Regions from separate parts of the Homo sapiens genome. Here region 2 is linked to region 1. The links are contacts of gene promoters, found by promoter capture Hi-C in blood cells and fetal thymus (Javierre and others, 2016). All regions are on one chromosome and are shown on one strand. The core of a region is centred on a gene start or on the middle of the fragment in contact, and the rest is flanking DNA. Distances in the headings are between cores, read along the strand shown.

Evidence for each region. Contacts are between HindIII fragments. The CHiCAGO score rates a contact against its expected background, and 5 or more counts as called.
Region 2: a contact is called between a fragment that was not itself captured here and the fragment with the promoter of PRDM5 in region 1, in 1 of 17 cell types (naive CD8 T cells). The highest score is 5.0, in naive CD8 T cells.

The regions. Positions count from the first base shown.
Region 1 is chr4:120,919,340-120,926,687 of GRCh38, reverse strand. It overlaps PRDM5 (PR/SET domain 5), which reads left to right and starts at 3,962. Exons shown (of 16, transcript NM_018699.4): 1 at 3,962-4,172. The coding sequence starts at 4,080. It overlaps LOC105377399 (a long non-coding RNA gene), which reads right to left and starts at 3,752. Exons shown (of 2, transcript XR_001741804.2): 1 at 3,361-3,752. The HindIII fragment of the contact is 4,297 bases long and covers 1,772-6,068 here.
Region 2 is chr4:121,011,947-121,019,372 of GRCh38, reverse strand. No RefSeq gene overlaps it. Among named protein-coding and RNA genes, the nearest start is that of NDNF-AS1, 56 kb to the left of the region's middle. The HindIII fragment of the contact is 1,914 bases long and covers 3,233-5,146 here.

The DNA.
Region 1 (7,348 bases), core at 2,713-5,212:
CCAGAACTTTGGAAGGCTGAGACTGGAGGATCACTCAAAGCCAGGCGTTTGAGACCAGCCTGGGAAACAAAGTGAGACTCCATCTATACCAATGAAATAAATAAAATAAAATAAAATAAAATAAAATAAAATAAAATAAAATAAAATAAAATAAGATAATTAGCTGAGCACAGTCATATGCACCTATAGTCCCAGCTACTTGGAAGACTGAGGCTGGAGGATTGTGAAGCCAGGAGTTGGAGGCTGCAGAGAGCTATGATCATACCACTGCACTCCAGCCTGCAGACCGAGCAAGACCTAGTTTCTAGTCTTGAAAAAAAGAAAAAAATTATTTGGCTCATGGTTCTGGTGTCTGGGAAGTTCAAGAGCCTACCACTGGCATCTGGCAAGGGTTATTTCTTGGCAGAAGGACAGAAGACAGAAGCAAGCTCTAGAGACACAGAGAGGAAATGGGGTTAAGCTTGCTTTTATAACAACCCACTTTCTAGATAACTAACGCTCTCCTGTGGTAATGACATTAATTCATTCACGACGGCTCTGCCTTCATGACCAATTACCTCTTGTTAGGCCTTGCCTCCCAACACTGTTGCTTTGGGAATTAAATTTCCTACACGTTAACTTTTGAGGGACACATCCAAACTGTAGCATAATGTTACTCAATTTAGTCACAACAACCTTCAGTTTTCTTCTAGTTAAAATTTATGATTCTTTTTTGGTACCACATACAAGTGTATGGTACCTTTCCAAAACTCAAGACATTAAGAAAAATTTAGTGTTCACACTTTTTTAGGTTTCAGGGACATCTTTTCATGGTGCTGTTGCTATTGTAGAATCAATGCTGAGGATAGATGTTTTAAGAGCAAGAATCTGACACCGTTACTCTCCATTTTATTTTAACAAACTTTTTTTTTTTAATCACACCAACTAAATCTTTATTCTTTTCTGCTCTGGAAACTTGGTTTTATATTCAATTATTACAAAAGCCCTCTGGTTCTCTGATAACTGAAGACAAATATGTTTCAGGTTATTATTATTTTTTTTCTATCAATCAGGCTTTTAGTCTACCATGGTGCTTGGAATCAGTCATCAATAACCAAGGCACAATTAAAAGAGTTCGACAGTATGTATAAATACTGACAGTATGGTAAAATAATTAATTAATATACAGTCATAATTCAAGTCTTCCCTAAAAACAAGGCCCACTCAAGTACATACGTTTAAATGCAATAACTAGAGCTTGCTTTAGACATATCAATGAAAAAGATTCCTCCAAAAGCAAATCTGAAAGTAAGGAACAATGTATTTTGAATAATTTCTTGTTTGTCAAGACAGTGCAATATTTTCTAGAATAAGTAAATCAGGTGCATGGTAGTACTTTAATATCAATTTTTTTGATTTTGTTATTTATTTTTTAAAGACTGGATTTAAACTCCTGATATAAAGCAGACTTTTAATTTCCCGTTTTTCAAAGATAATATTGAAAGGTCGCTTTCTAGCTTTTAAAGTTTTAAGAAATGACTCATTGTACTATCACTGTCTTACAGGCTTCAAAATCAAATATCCGGTCAATACTGTGCATTTTGATTTGGCAAACATGTATCCTTTTTGTGTGTTGTAATGGAACTTATTATTAAGAACTTTTTATTGCTAGTTCCTATGTTTTAGTTAGTAGATCTTCAGAACACTCCATTAAATAGATAAAAAAGAACATTGCATGCTTTAATGAAATACACTGAATGTGTCAATTGTAACAAAAATATCTGACCAAGCTTCATAAAATATCTGGAAAGTTTCTCATCTTATTGATTTCAGATTTATCTTTAAAATTTTATTTATATACTTTCACCATTTTCTAATTAGTAAAGAAGCCTACATTCAGAGAGGGGCATTCTCAAGGCTGCAGCCTTGCTCCCCAGAAAGACAGCATGCAACCAAATATTTGAGAGATATGCCTAAATAAGGATCCCTAAATAAGGATTGTTTCAGACTAAAACCAAAAAACGTTTTCCTCTCCAGCGATCAAAAGCTGTGGAAATTCTCGTGCCCAAAGAGACAGTGGCAGAGCATTTGACTGAGAGCCCTGGATGGCTTAAGGGTGGCTGGAAGCCTGTGTTTGACAAAGAGCTGAATGCTCCAGGAAAATGCCAGGGCCCCACCTTCTGGACTGTGGGCCCAGTGGATCTGGTCTGGCATGGTTTCAGCCCTGGTTCTAAGGAACCCTGGAAAACCTACTTAGTCCAGTTCCTTGTGAAGCACAACAAAAAGTCAAGTAAATTCTAGGCTCACCATAGAATTTTTGAACATCTCAGATCAGCCTCAGAAGTGACTTTCATTCAAGACATATTTAATGAACACCTACTATTTTTCAAGGCCATGGAACTCCCAATTCCCCCAAAAGAGAGTTTTTGTTTTTATTGATTTATTTTCCCCTAGAGAAGTTAGAGATCTTCCATGGGAAGTCAAAGGTATCAAAACTCACAGAGTGGCTAAGTGTTCCTCTCCCTGCTGTGAAAGCTAAACTTACATTTCTTAGAAAGAGGATCATGTCATCATTTACTGTGTTCCTTAAAGTCTCCGAATATTGCCACTACATGATTTTTTTTTCCCATAATGCCTTTTGTTCTTGTTTTTTAAACCTTTTTCCAAACTTGAATCAAAATCTACATAGGGGCCGGGTGTGGTAGCTCAAGTGTGTAATCCCAGCACTTCAGGAGGCCAACGCCGCCGGAGGATCCCTTAAGCCCAGGAGTTCAAGATCAACCTGGGAGACATAGCTAGACCCTGTCAAAAAAAAAAAAAAAAAAAAATCTGCTTAGGAACTATGTTCCAAGGGTTTCCTGCAGAAACAGGAATCGTTTCCATGGTGTGTGTGTGTAGTCTGTAATTTTGTCAAACTTTTGTGTGTGCTTTTAATGGTTTATGAGAACATCAATTAAGAACATCAAATGGTTTCCGAGAAAAGACCCTAGAGTAGAAAATTACCATAAATATCAAGAGAAATGAGTAGATGACCCCAGGATCACTTTGAAGGATGAAACAGGCTTTTAAAGGTCCTGGGCACACTGCACAGCCTAACAGCTTATTAAAAACACTAAAACAAGACTTGTGACTTTATTGCATTGTTGTGACACCAGATGCTATTGTTTGGGTGTCCCCTCCTGTCTCCCACAAATCCACTTCCGTATGTCTGAAAATCCGTAATACGTCTAATGATTATCAAGCAAGGGAGGTCTCAGGAATATTGTACCTTGAGAAGTATAAGAACTTCCCAGAGGTTATGTTACCATAAAATATCTAGTTTCTAGTGCTTAAAACATTAAATTGTTTGCAACATATTTTTCCGTACGTTAATCAACATACTTTGCGATCCCTTATTAAGTTCTAGCCTCTGCAACAAACGTGAAAAAAAGCAAAGACGCATAACTCAAATGTGAGAAGCACGGAAATTTCCTAGACCGCAGGGTTCGTTCTCAGTAGTCGGCAATAAGCTGGCTTTCAGAGTCAGGAACTTGATAAAGTTGTTTTGGAGGATGCCCCAGCTGTGTGAAGGTCCATTTCGTTTTGCATCTGAAGAGAAGCAAGCGAGACTCCCCTACAGGGAGTAATGGTTCAGCGGGGCAAGGTTTGAAAACCCAGAGCTGGACAAAGGCGGGAACGCACGCCGCCGCGCCGGGGCTAGGGGTGCTGACGGCCCGCGCAGCTCGCGGGCCTCCGGGTTTGAGGCCCTGGGGTCAGCCCTGCTCCGGGCTTCGCGCCCGGGCGCGGGTCAGAGCCGCCAACTTCGGGCCAATCAGCGAGCGGCGTCCCGGCGCCCGCAGCGCCCAGGCCCGCGCCCCCCGCGCCCCCGCAGCAGGAATGGCAGGAACGGATCCGGGCCGAGCCCGACCCGGGACGAGGAGGGGCTGAGCCGCGGGGGATCCTGGAATCGGCAGGGAGGTGGGGATTCTGGGAGGAAAACTCCATTTCCTCCTTCCCTGCCGGTTTCTCCCCTCTACCCTGGCACCCCAAATTTCGATGTGCCGCCTGCCGGGCGCTAAGCGCCGGTGTTGAGAGAGGCGGCGGCCGCCGCGCCCGGGAAAATGCTGGGCATGTACGTGCCGGACAGGTTCTCCCTGAAGTCCTCCCGGGTTCAGGACGGCATGGGGCTCTACACGGCCCGCAGAGTGCGAAAGGTGGGTGACCCGGCGGCGGCCTGCGCGCCCCTGCACCTCGCGCGCCCTGTGCCTCCCGGAGTCGCCCTGCCGCAGGGCCCGGGGCGCGGCGGGCTTCACCCCGGTCGCCCCTCGCCCGGGCCGGGCCAGGCGTCCGTGGGAAGGCCGGGGACCGCGGGGCACGGCGGGGGTGGCCTTTACTCGCTGCGCCACCCGAGCAGGCAGCGCCACGTAGGTGGCGGCGGGGTGCGCTCCGCTGCCGGCCGGTCCAGGGGCGGAACTGCCACCGGCCTCCCTGCCGCAAGATGTCTTTCCTCTCTCCCGCAGGAAGTGAGCGCGGCGGGAGCCTCCCTCTTCCTCGGTTACGGGTGTGAGCTGCGTCTTTGCGTTGGCGAAGGCACGCGTGGGCGGGTGTTTTCCCCCGCGCGCACGCTGCTCCGCTGTCGCCTCTTTTCCTTTAGGATGAATTAATGTGGCTAGAAACGCCTAACTTTCCATGCGGGGATGGGAGGAGCAGCCCAGAGCGCCGCTCCACGCAGGCCGTAGAATCTCATTCATACGCCCAGGATTTCCTTCCCTCCTTCTGGAATGTATTATATGTGCCTTCAGGGAGGTGCCAACCAGATGATCTTTGAGTGTCTATACCTTTTTTCTCCGCTCTTTTTTTTTTTAATTTGTCTCCAACATCGGTTCGATCTCTCCAGCCAGAAAGTTACAGGCATGTGATGAGAGGAAGCACATTGCTCAGTTCGTACAGGAAGGGCCTGAAAGTGTTGGATGTTGAAAGCAAAGGCCTAGGAAGAGAGGCCACAGGAAAAGTCCAGCTCTTTGGATTTGATCTTATAATATTATAACTTGTTAGAGTCGTCCTAGCCGTCCTCGCCCCCTTTTCTTAGTAGATATTTTGTAAGATGGAGGTTTGGGCAAGAACAGGCTTGTTCAGGTAAGGTATGTTAACAAGAGGTTCAGAGGATGCAGTAGAGACACTAGGGTGCCTTTCATCTGCATATAACCCTCTCCCCTTTGCCTCTGACCTAAAGAGCTGGTGAAGAGTAGTAGAAAGTGCTAGTAATCCCCAAAAAGGGCTCCACTGACAACATGATCTCCAGTCATCCTTCAGGGCAAAATTGGAGAAAATAAACCACTTATTTATTTTTTCAAGTGGGAGTTGGCGAGAATGTTCAAATGTTAAAAACAGGAATAAATAATTTATCTGAATTAGAGGTGTATTGAATAGTTGCCAAATGGCCAAATGTTAAAATCAACATTTTTTGAAGGCCAAATACAACCATCACCAAATGACGTCTGTACAGAGTTGAAATTCTCCTTTTAATTCATTCTTAAAAGATGTGAAAAATTCTCAAACAGACCTTCCTTAAAGGTTTCTGGCTTAAATTTAATTACTTTAAAAATTAAACACAGATCTTAAAAATCATTTTATTTAATGTTATGAAGAGTACTGTAAACAACTCTGCAAAGATTAGAATTATTATATAATCCTTGTTGTTTCCTTATATTACCATATAGATTTTTAGAAACAGCTGGCCAACCTACTTTCTTTTGAGATTTTTATTAATTTCAGTTTATTTTTTTCATGTGTTTGATTCTTTGTAAGTATTTTATTTTTGGGCATGCAATGAAATGAACAGCTTCCAAAATCATCATATATTATTGCATCACTTTACTATTGCAATGATAAATGCTTATCTTTTCCTGGCCAGTTTAACTTTAATAAATAAAACACATACAGATTTTCATCCAGATCATATTTAGAATGCTTCGCTGTATTTCAAAGTGAATGTGCAGATGTTTGCTATGAATCCAAACTATTATCGATGTTTAGTTATGATCCCAAAATATTCAGTCACAAGGTCATGGACAGGTTTGTTGATCTCAGAAATGACCTTAAAGCAAGCTTCAGTTCCTTTTCCTTCCAAAATCTGAGGACGAAGACAAAGCTAAAGCCAAACAGCAGACTTTAGCTGAATTGTGAGGCTGCAGCTGAGTATCAAGGCATCCCTTACCTGCTTATGGAAGGCAAACAGTCCCTCAATTCTTAGGTATTTTCCAAGTAACCTTGTACTAGGCCTAATTCTGGACATAAATCAAGGGATCTGAGAAGAGAGATTTATCAGCAGCTACATTAAGAACCTTACTTAAAAGTTTTTATGCTCTCTATTCTAAACAAATTTTGGAAGATACCACTTTTAATACATGTGTTGGAAATTACAGATGTTTTGCCACACTTTTATAACACATATGCTTGTATAACACTCCTGTTTTAAAAAGTGCTTGCAATTCAAGCCATCTGTTGATTTCAAATTCAGAGAATCTAATCCAGACTGAGGTTGGGGAATCTTGCTAGAAACCCCACCCTCATTACATTCACCAGGTTGAGATGGGATTTTCTTGCTGGTGGTACCTCTTAATCCTCTAGTCCTACCCCTTTTCGTGCAGTGCTTCCTAGAGTGGTGGTGTCTTTGCAGCAGAATCACCTAATTCCCTGGCTTTACCTTAGTCCTACTAGATTTTTCCTTGGCAATTATCCTTTTTTGCTGGTCTGTTGCCTCTGATTTTTTTTCCAGTATAAAAATCTGTATAGTGACAACTCAAGAAAACGAAAAGAGTCAGTTAGAAAGCTTTTGAGAAGAAAAAGGAGACCTGAGTTCATTCATACTTTTACACATTGTGATTTGCTAATAATCAGAATAAGGAAAAATAATGAAATTGACACTTTTTGCATGCTGTGTGCCAGACCCTGTCTAATGCTTGCTGTGTTTTCTCGGGAGCACAGTTGAATGCTTCAGTGAAAATGTGGCATTTTAGGTTGCAAAGTATTATGCAGATTAAAATTAATATTAGTTACTCAAAACTCATAAATTAAGTATACATCCAATAAAAATTTAAAGTTAAGCAGACACCTTACTACATTACATTTTTTGTTTCATGACCATTTTTTTCCTAGCTTGCTTATATGATTAACCACCAGTGGGTGGTGTTTTTTGATATTGTACCTGAAACTGCAAAGTGGAAAGGTTATTTCAAGCTCTCAGATTATGTGATTTTAAGGGAAAGATTAAGGTGGAAATACACTGCTCTCAGCTTTCTTTCCCTTTGGATATTTTAGGCTGTAGGTTTTTCTTCTCTGACTTTCAGTCATTTAATCATTCATATGTGGCAGGTACTGTACTAGGCCC
Region 2 (7,426 bases), core at 2,940-5,439, 92 kb before region 1:
ACCAGAAAGTAAGAAAATAATTTAAAAAATAATTAAAAAGTTTTAAACCCCACAATAAGTATATGTCATTAGAACACGCGAACCAACTGAAAGTGCTCCCAATGCCAAACCAGGAAAAATTTGAGCAACAAAATTAATAAAGTAGTATTGGATTATAACTTAAACCATAAATAAATATTCATGGTTTTACATTAATGTAAATAAATAAATTAATTAATAAGTAGGGAAGAAGAGACAAATCTTCCAGGCAGAATTCCAAATAATGTATGTACATACTCTCCCTGGAGGGTGTAGAAAGCAAAACTCTCCACTCCTCAAGTGTAAGCTGTGCACAGTGACTGCCTTCCAAAGCGTACAGTAAGGAAAGCCAAGTGGAGGAAGTAACTTCACCGAAGAAAAACCTGACAAAACCCCATCACAGTCAGGTGATTAAGGTCACCATCAGCAATGATAAGTCATCTTGATAGTAATTACTCTGACACATGAAGTGGTGAAAAATGGTACTTTATCTCTATGATCTTTCTGGGTGCCAAAATCCTACTACCTCAATCTAATCATGATAAAGATCATCAAATTCCAGTTGAGGGACCTGTTGCAAAATGCCTGACCAGTACTACTCAAAACTGTCAAGGTCATCAAAATCAAAGATAGCCTGAGAAATTATCTCAACCAAGAGGAGCCCAAGAGACATGACTATTAAATGTAGCATGGTAACTTCAATGGGATCCTGGAAAGGAAAAAGGACATTAGGTAAAAACTGAGGAAATCTCAGTAAAGTGTGAACTTTGTTTAATAATAATGTATCAGTATTGGTCCGTTAACTGTAACAAATGTGCCATCCTAACATATGATGCTAATAATAGGATACCGGCTATGGGGTAGATGAGGACCCTCTGTCCTCCCTTTACAATTTTTCTATCAATCTAATATTGTCTAAAAAATAAAGTTATTATTTTACAATACATGTTGCCCTGTGTGACCTTAGAAAAAGCTGGGAAACACTACCAGCACATGACTAATATTGAAAAACATGGTTTCTTATAAATTCACAAGAATGTTCTAGTTGTAAATATACCCGTTAGCATCTAGACAAATGTATCCACTGTATGAAGTTACTGGATATGAAACAAATAGTGAAGACTTGAGAGGAAAGACAACCTGTGACAAGTTTTATAATAGTTTATTCACTTATGCATTTGGCAAATATTTATGAAGTGCTCCCCGTGACCCAGGCACCATGCTAGGTAATGGGCCAAAAATAGGGAAAAACCAGACATGGTCACTGCCTTCCCAGAAAGTCTAGTCTACTGAATACTAAACTTTTTTTTCTGACAGCTGAGTGGAGGCAATGCCTATCGAGGTGACTTCCAGCTCCAGCAGTAGCAATGTATAGCCAACAGATAGAATCCCAGATATTTTCTGAGTCTTTAGCATGGGGAGCAAAGGAAGAAGGAGGTACCCAGGACTTTAGAAACAGTTTCAATACAAATCTAAAATAAAATAAGAAAGGGAGCAAAAAAACCAACCAACAAACAAACAAACAAAAACTTCCAGAGGCCAGGCTCAGTGACTCTCACCCATAATCCCAGCACTTTGTAGGGCCAAGGAGGGAGGATCGCTTGAGCCCAGGAGTTCAAGACCAGCCTGGGAAACAGAGCGAGACTTTGTCTCTACTAAAAATAAAAAATATTACCAGGCTTGGTGGCACGTGCCTGTAGTCCCTGCTACTAAGGCGGCTGAGGTGGGAGGATTCACTGAGCCCTGGAAGTCAAGGCTGCAGGGAGCCATGATCATTCCACTGCACTCCAGCTTGGGTGATAGAGCAAGACCAAGACCCTGTCTCAAAAATTAAAAAAAAACAAAAAAACAAAACACTGCCAGAATGTAGCCCTGTTTTCCTGTTTTTGTTTTTGTTTTTGTTCTTTTGTTTTTTGTTTTTGTTTTTTTTTTTGTGCAGATCAGGAGACCATTATCACTGACTCTGAAGATGGGGCTTCTACATTGAAATGTAGACTTTCTTTCCCTCAGCAGTTTCTAGCATTGGCACAGCACAGAGAAGAACCTGGGGGCATGGGAGCAGAGCAGAGCTGCAGGTGGAACACAGCCACAGAACACTCGGTTAGGGTTGAGAGCCATGGCCTCACAGAACTATCTTGTTATAAAGTGTGCAGCAGCCAGAATTTTGCGAAGCATTCAGGAAGGAAGTAGATCCTTCTAATGAAATCAATATATGTTTAATCTTCTGTATATTGGCTACATGTGAGACATGCATCTTTACCATGAAAACAGAAATAAAGTTAGCACAGGCTTAAAGTCAGACAGCCTTAAATTCAAATGCTGGCTCTTCTACCTTCTAACAAGGCTACCTCGGGTAAGTTGCTTAATTAAGCAAAACAAGGCTCGGAAAGGTTAAGCAAGCTACTTGAATCACACAGCTGAGCTAAATGAACTTTGAACTCAAGTGGGACTCCAACCACTGGCTCTTTCCACTTCCCAAAGCTGCCGTCCTGTGCAGGAAGCCCTGAGAGACTGAGCTGTGTCATCCCACATGGTCAGCGTGTCCAGCTGCCTGTCCCCAGGAAAAGAATGTCCAGAGTGAGTAAACAGAGCTGCACCTTGCCACACCCCTAATTGGTGAACTGAAGTGCTTATTTCCTTTCCTCAACAAAAATGATTGTCTTTCATTCTGTGATGTGTCATAGAACAGGGATCCCCAACTTAAGGGTCACAGACCTGTACCGGTCCGTGGCCTGTTAGGAACCAGGCCACATAGCAGGAGGTGAGTTGTAGGCAAGAGGGCACTACCGCCAGAGCTCTGCCTCCTGTCAGATCAGCGGCGGCATTAGATTCTCAGAGCGCAAACCCTATTGTGAACTATGCATGCAAGTGATCTAGGTTGTGTGCTCCTTATGAGAATCTAATGCCTGAGAACAGTTTCATCCCGAAATCATCTTCCCCACCTCTGTAGGTGGAAACCAGTCCCTGGTGCCAAAAAGGTTGGGGACCGCTGTCATAGAACACTGAAGTCATGGGTCAAATGTAACACAATACTCATGGAAAAAAAAAGTAATAAAAGCTCAAGGTTATTGTCTAATCACAAAGACTGAAAATATTTTCTATTTGCTTTGGATTTGCATTATTATACTATTTTGAACCTATTTGAGATTGGTTTTTGGTTTACTTTATTGGTTGACACAGTAGTATTTCTAGTATCCAGGGATATATTTAAGCTTCTCATTAGTGAGCTGACTAATAAAAGCATGTTTTAGGTAATTTCAGTTTAACCATAACCTTCATGTAGAAAGGGGCAGGAGGAGAAAAAGATATAAGCCCTCCTGAAGTGAGAGAAAAAACTTTTGTTCAAAATATTCTATATAAGGTGAGCTGTACAGGAAACAAACAACAATATGAAATAACATTATATTCCTACAGTGAGTGATAGGGTCAGAAGAACACTTACTTTCATACATAGGGAAAATATACAGTGGGTTTTGAAGTCCTCCTGGGCTGGACTTCATCTTGCTTTCCCAGGTCTTGTGACTGGCAGTGTATGTGGAAGATTATTTTTCCATTTAATCAAGGGTCACATGTATCCACACACTTGTGGGAATTCATTTGCTATACTTAAGTTTGGGATCAGCACACTTAACCAAATTAAAGGCTCTATATTGCCCCTCATGTGTTGTTGTTGATTGCTTGGAAAACCAATATTTCCAGCCCATTTACTTCAAACTCATTCCTTCCAAGGTGTTATTTTGCATGGCCAGCACGCCTGTGTTACCCCTGGCACAGCTGTTGATTTCTCTGTAATTAAAATCCTTGTGGGGAGAGCAGAAAGCTGGCCTTTTACATCATTTTCTCATTAGTTTGGTTTTTAATTCCTATTGGATCATTGTTTAGGCTTGTCACAGGGAAACTTTCATTAGAGTCTTTTGGCTGCAATGCTGTTTTAACAGAGCAAATGGAATTTGAAAATCCAAACAAATATCTCTTCATCATTTTTGATGGATAAAAGAAAGATGCTGCTAAACAAAGCAGGCTGTAAAGGGTGTTATTTCAGCTGTAATTAATATTTGATCTCCAAGTTTAGGTAAATTCCCTATCATTTAAGACGTTTTCACAACTGTTAAGTCAAAATTTTAAGAGAGTCAGTTGAGTTTCCTACTAGGGGGGTGTAGAACCAAAGTGTCAGAAACTCAAGAATGTGGAGACCCCGTTTGTGTTGTTGACTTTCTTTCATTGATTATGACTGAGTGTTAGCCTTGATTGCAGACCTGGAGATACAAGTGGAAACTGCTATTTGATGGTCATTATAATCCTTCTGATTTTTGCTATTTTGAGCTCAGCTATCTCTTCCTAAATTCAACTTACCAGGCCATATTTGAATGCCTACTTAGATATATATGTGTGTGTGTCTATAAAATACAAATCTACATATCCACCTCTAAGTCTTCCTCTTTTATAGAGGCCCACTTCTAACTCTGGGTTTATATGTAACTGCTAAATCAAATGAAGAGAGTAAAGATAGCTGCTTCCCCTCATAATTCTGCTCTGGACTGACCTTTATCACCAAAGTATTTAGGGAAGCCTGGTACCAGGCTTCCACACACAGTGAGATTATACCAAGGAGCCATAAATAAACTCAAGGTTGCTGACATTATTGCAGACAGCAGGATCAAAAGAGGAAATTGCATTGAAACTAAACCTGATTTCAGATAAAAGAAAACCTTAGCCTTCAAATTTTTTCTTTTTGTTGACATTAGTTTTACTCAAGTTTCCTCTTACTCCGCCTTTGCCTACTTATAAACCAAAATGAAGTCCCATGGCTCTACAGGGTCTTGGAAAGCACATGCATTGTGAAACTGTAAAAATTCAATGACTTCCCTCTGACTACATCACAAAATAATCATGGAGAATTTATCACTTCGATAAAAGAAGAAAAAATGTATGTTAATAACAGTCTGTGCATCAGGAGCTTGCAAACTCTGCCCTTTAAACGTATTATCGAAACATTACACTCAACCATGGGCCAACTAAAAATGACTGTTTGCAATAGAGGGTAAATATTCCTCTTTGGGTTCTGCTTAATGTTATGACTTGAGCTTCTGTGATTAGTTTCTTTAACACATGCCTGTTCTGAGAAGCTTATGTAATGGTCCTGCTGTTTTGGTTCTAACTTATTAAAAACATTCTGTGACCCTCCACATTTGCAATATAGATAATGTGGGTGCCTTGAAACATGGGCTGTAAATCTGCAGTGTCATGAAACAGATGGTCTCAAATGATGAGAAATGAACAATATACCTTGTTGATTCAGAAACAAAATGAAAACCATCTCACCCCTCCACACCTAGTAATTCCTAGTAAGTAAAAAAACCACAGAGATGTAGAATATTATAGATAATTAATGCCAGAAGCGCTCTATCAGCTAATCCAGTCAACAGCCTCACTTTAAAGAGACAGACTCAGAGTGATGAAGTAGGTTGCTTAGGGTCACACAGCAAGTTACAGAGGCTCTTCCTAGATTCCTACTCAAAGTCCTTTTTTTCTACCATATTTCCTTTGTTTGGCTTCTCTATTCACTGACACAATGTCGAAATATGTTAGCAAACTTTGACCTGATAGTCATAATTATTTTTCAAGTGTTTATTTTTAATGATCAAAAGTGCAGGCAAATATAAGCTTCAGATTCAAATGGCAAAAGTGATGGTCAGAAGTATGTTCACTGCTACATTTTTCCAACTTGCATGAACATTGATCATTCAAAATACTTACGTAGAGTCTTACTTCAAAAATAACATTTACTCACTGGTAATAAAAACATTAAAAATAAGGATCGGCCTATTGTTTTTAGCTGCACTTAACACAGCCCATGCCTAATCAAAGGCCATTTTCTTTTGGAAAACAAATCTTGATCAACTCTAACCAAGGTGCTGAGGAGCGGTAATCATTAGTAACGACCTTGTGAAACTTATGAGGTACCTATTGTTTGCAGGCCTCTGGATGGAGCTAAAAACACTGCTTGCCAGAGCTAAAGGCAATAAAGACTAATAAATGCCAGAGCTGGTGCAGAAACAGAAATTCTACCTCCCTGCATCCTTTAAAGTAAGAACAAGTCACGAACAACAGAAAAGGAGAAGGGTGGCCTTATCAGAGAGGATGCTGATGATGGATTTTGTCACATGTGAAATAATTCAAAGGCCTTCCAGAGTAGCCAACACTTGCAGAGAAAAAGCAGGATGAAGCCAGCACAGGGCTCTTTGGGGGTGGGTGTGAGTCTTCTACATTACAAGTAGTGTTGATGGGAGCCATGAAATGGGACAGTGCTAGTTTCTTACACCATTGTAAACAGTCAGGAGCACAACTGCAAGGTTTTGTTGTTTGCTTCGCTTGTTTGTTTTTCTGCCTCTAAGATAGATGTTTGAGATTTCAAAGAATTGTGGATCAGGCCAGTCACAATGGCTCACGCCTATAATCCCAGCCCTTTAGGATGCCAAGGTTTTGGTCCAAGAGACCAGCCTAGTCAACAGAGCAAGACCCCATCTCTACAAAAAATAAGACAACTAGCCTGAAGTGGTGGTGCATGCCTATAGCCTCAGCTACTTGGGAAGCTGAGGTGGGAGGGCTGCTTGAGTGCAGGAGTTTGGGGCTGCAGTGAGCCACGATGGTGCCACTGCACTCCAGCCTGGGTGACAGAGCAAAACCCCATCTCTAAAAATAAAATAAAATAAGAATAGTTGGTCAAAACAGAATTGTAGCAAAAAGCCAAAGGCATGGGCTGCTCTAAAAGTAAGTATAAAGGTTTAAAGTGTAAAAGATATCTTCTTGTATCCTTCTAAATGAAGATATAAATCTAACTTGAAAGGAAAAGTTGAGAGTGAGACTTTTTATTGCTCTGGTCTTGAATTCTGGAGCTTGATTGTTAGAAGAGAAACACTGGAGTGACAATGCAACTTGGACCAAAAGAAAGAGAAAGGACGAGTTCAACTAAGTAAACATTTTAAAAATTCAACTACAGGAATATTCAGTATACAATAGAAAAATGACACTGATGTTATCTAACAATAAACTATTAAGTTTTCATTTCCTGTATCACTGGACACTCTGCTCCAGGGATCCATGGGACCTTATAAAGGAGACATACAGTGTTGAGAGACTTGACTATATTGGAATGATCACTAAGCTGGTTGGGCTGAACTGGGAGCCAAAAACCAGGAGGCCCTGCCCAGCTGTTGACCTCACTGGCTATGAGTGAAAGCCATTTAGCTTTCTAGGAGCTCTACTTTTTCAAATGTAAAATGGGGGATTGGGTTGGAGAATCCTTAATGTTCTTTCTACTGCTAAAACTCTATGACTCACAATGTAAGTAACTCCATACACTCTTTCCTTAGATGAGATAGCTCAATAATAATATTTGGTGAAAATG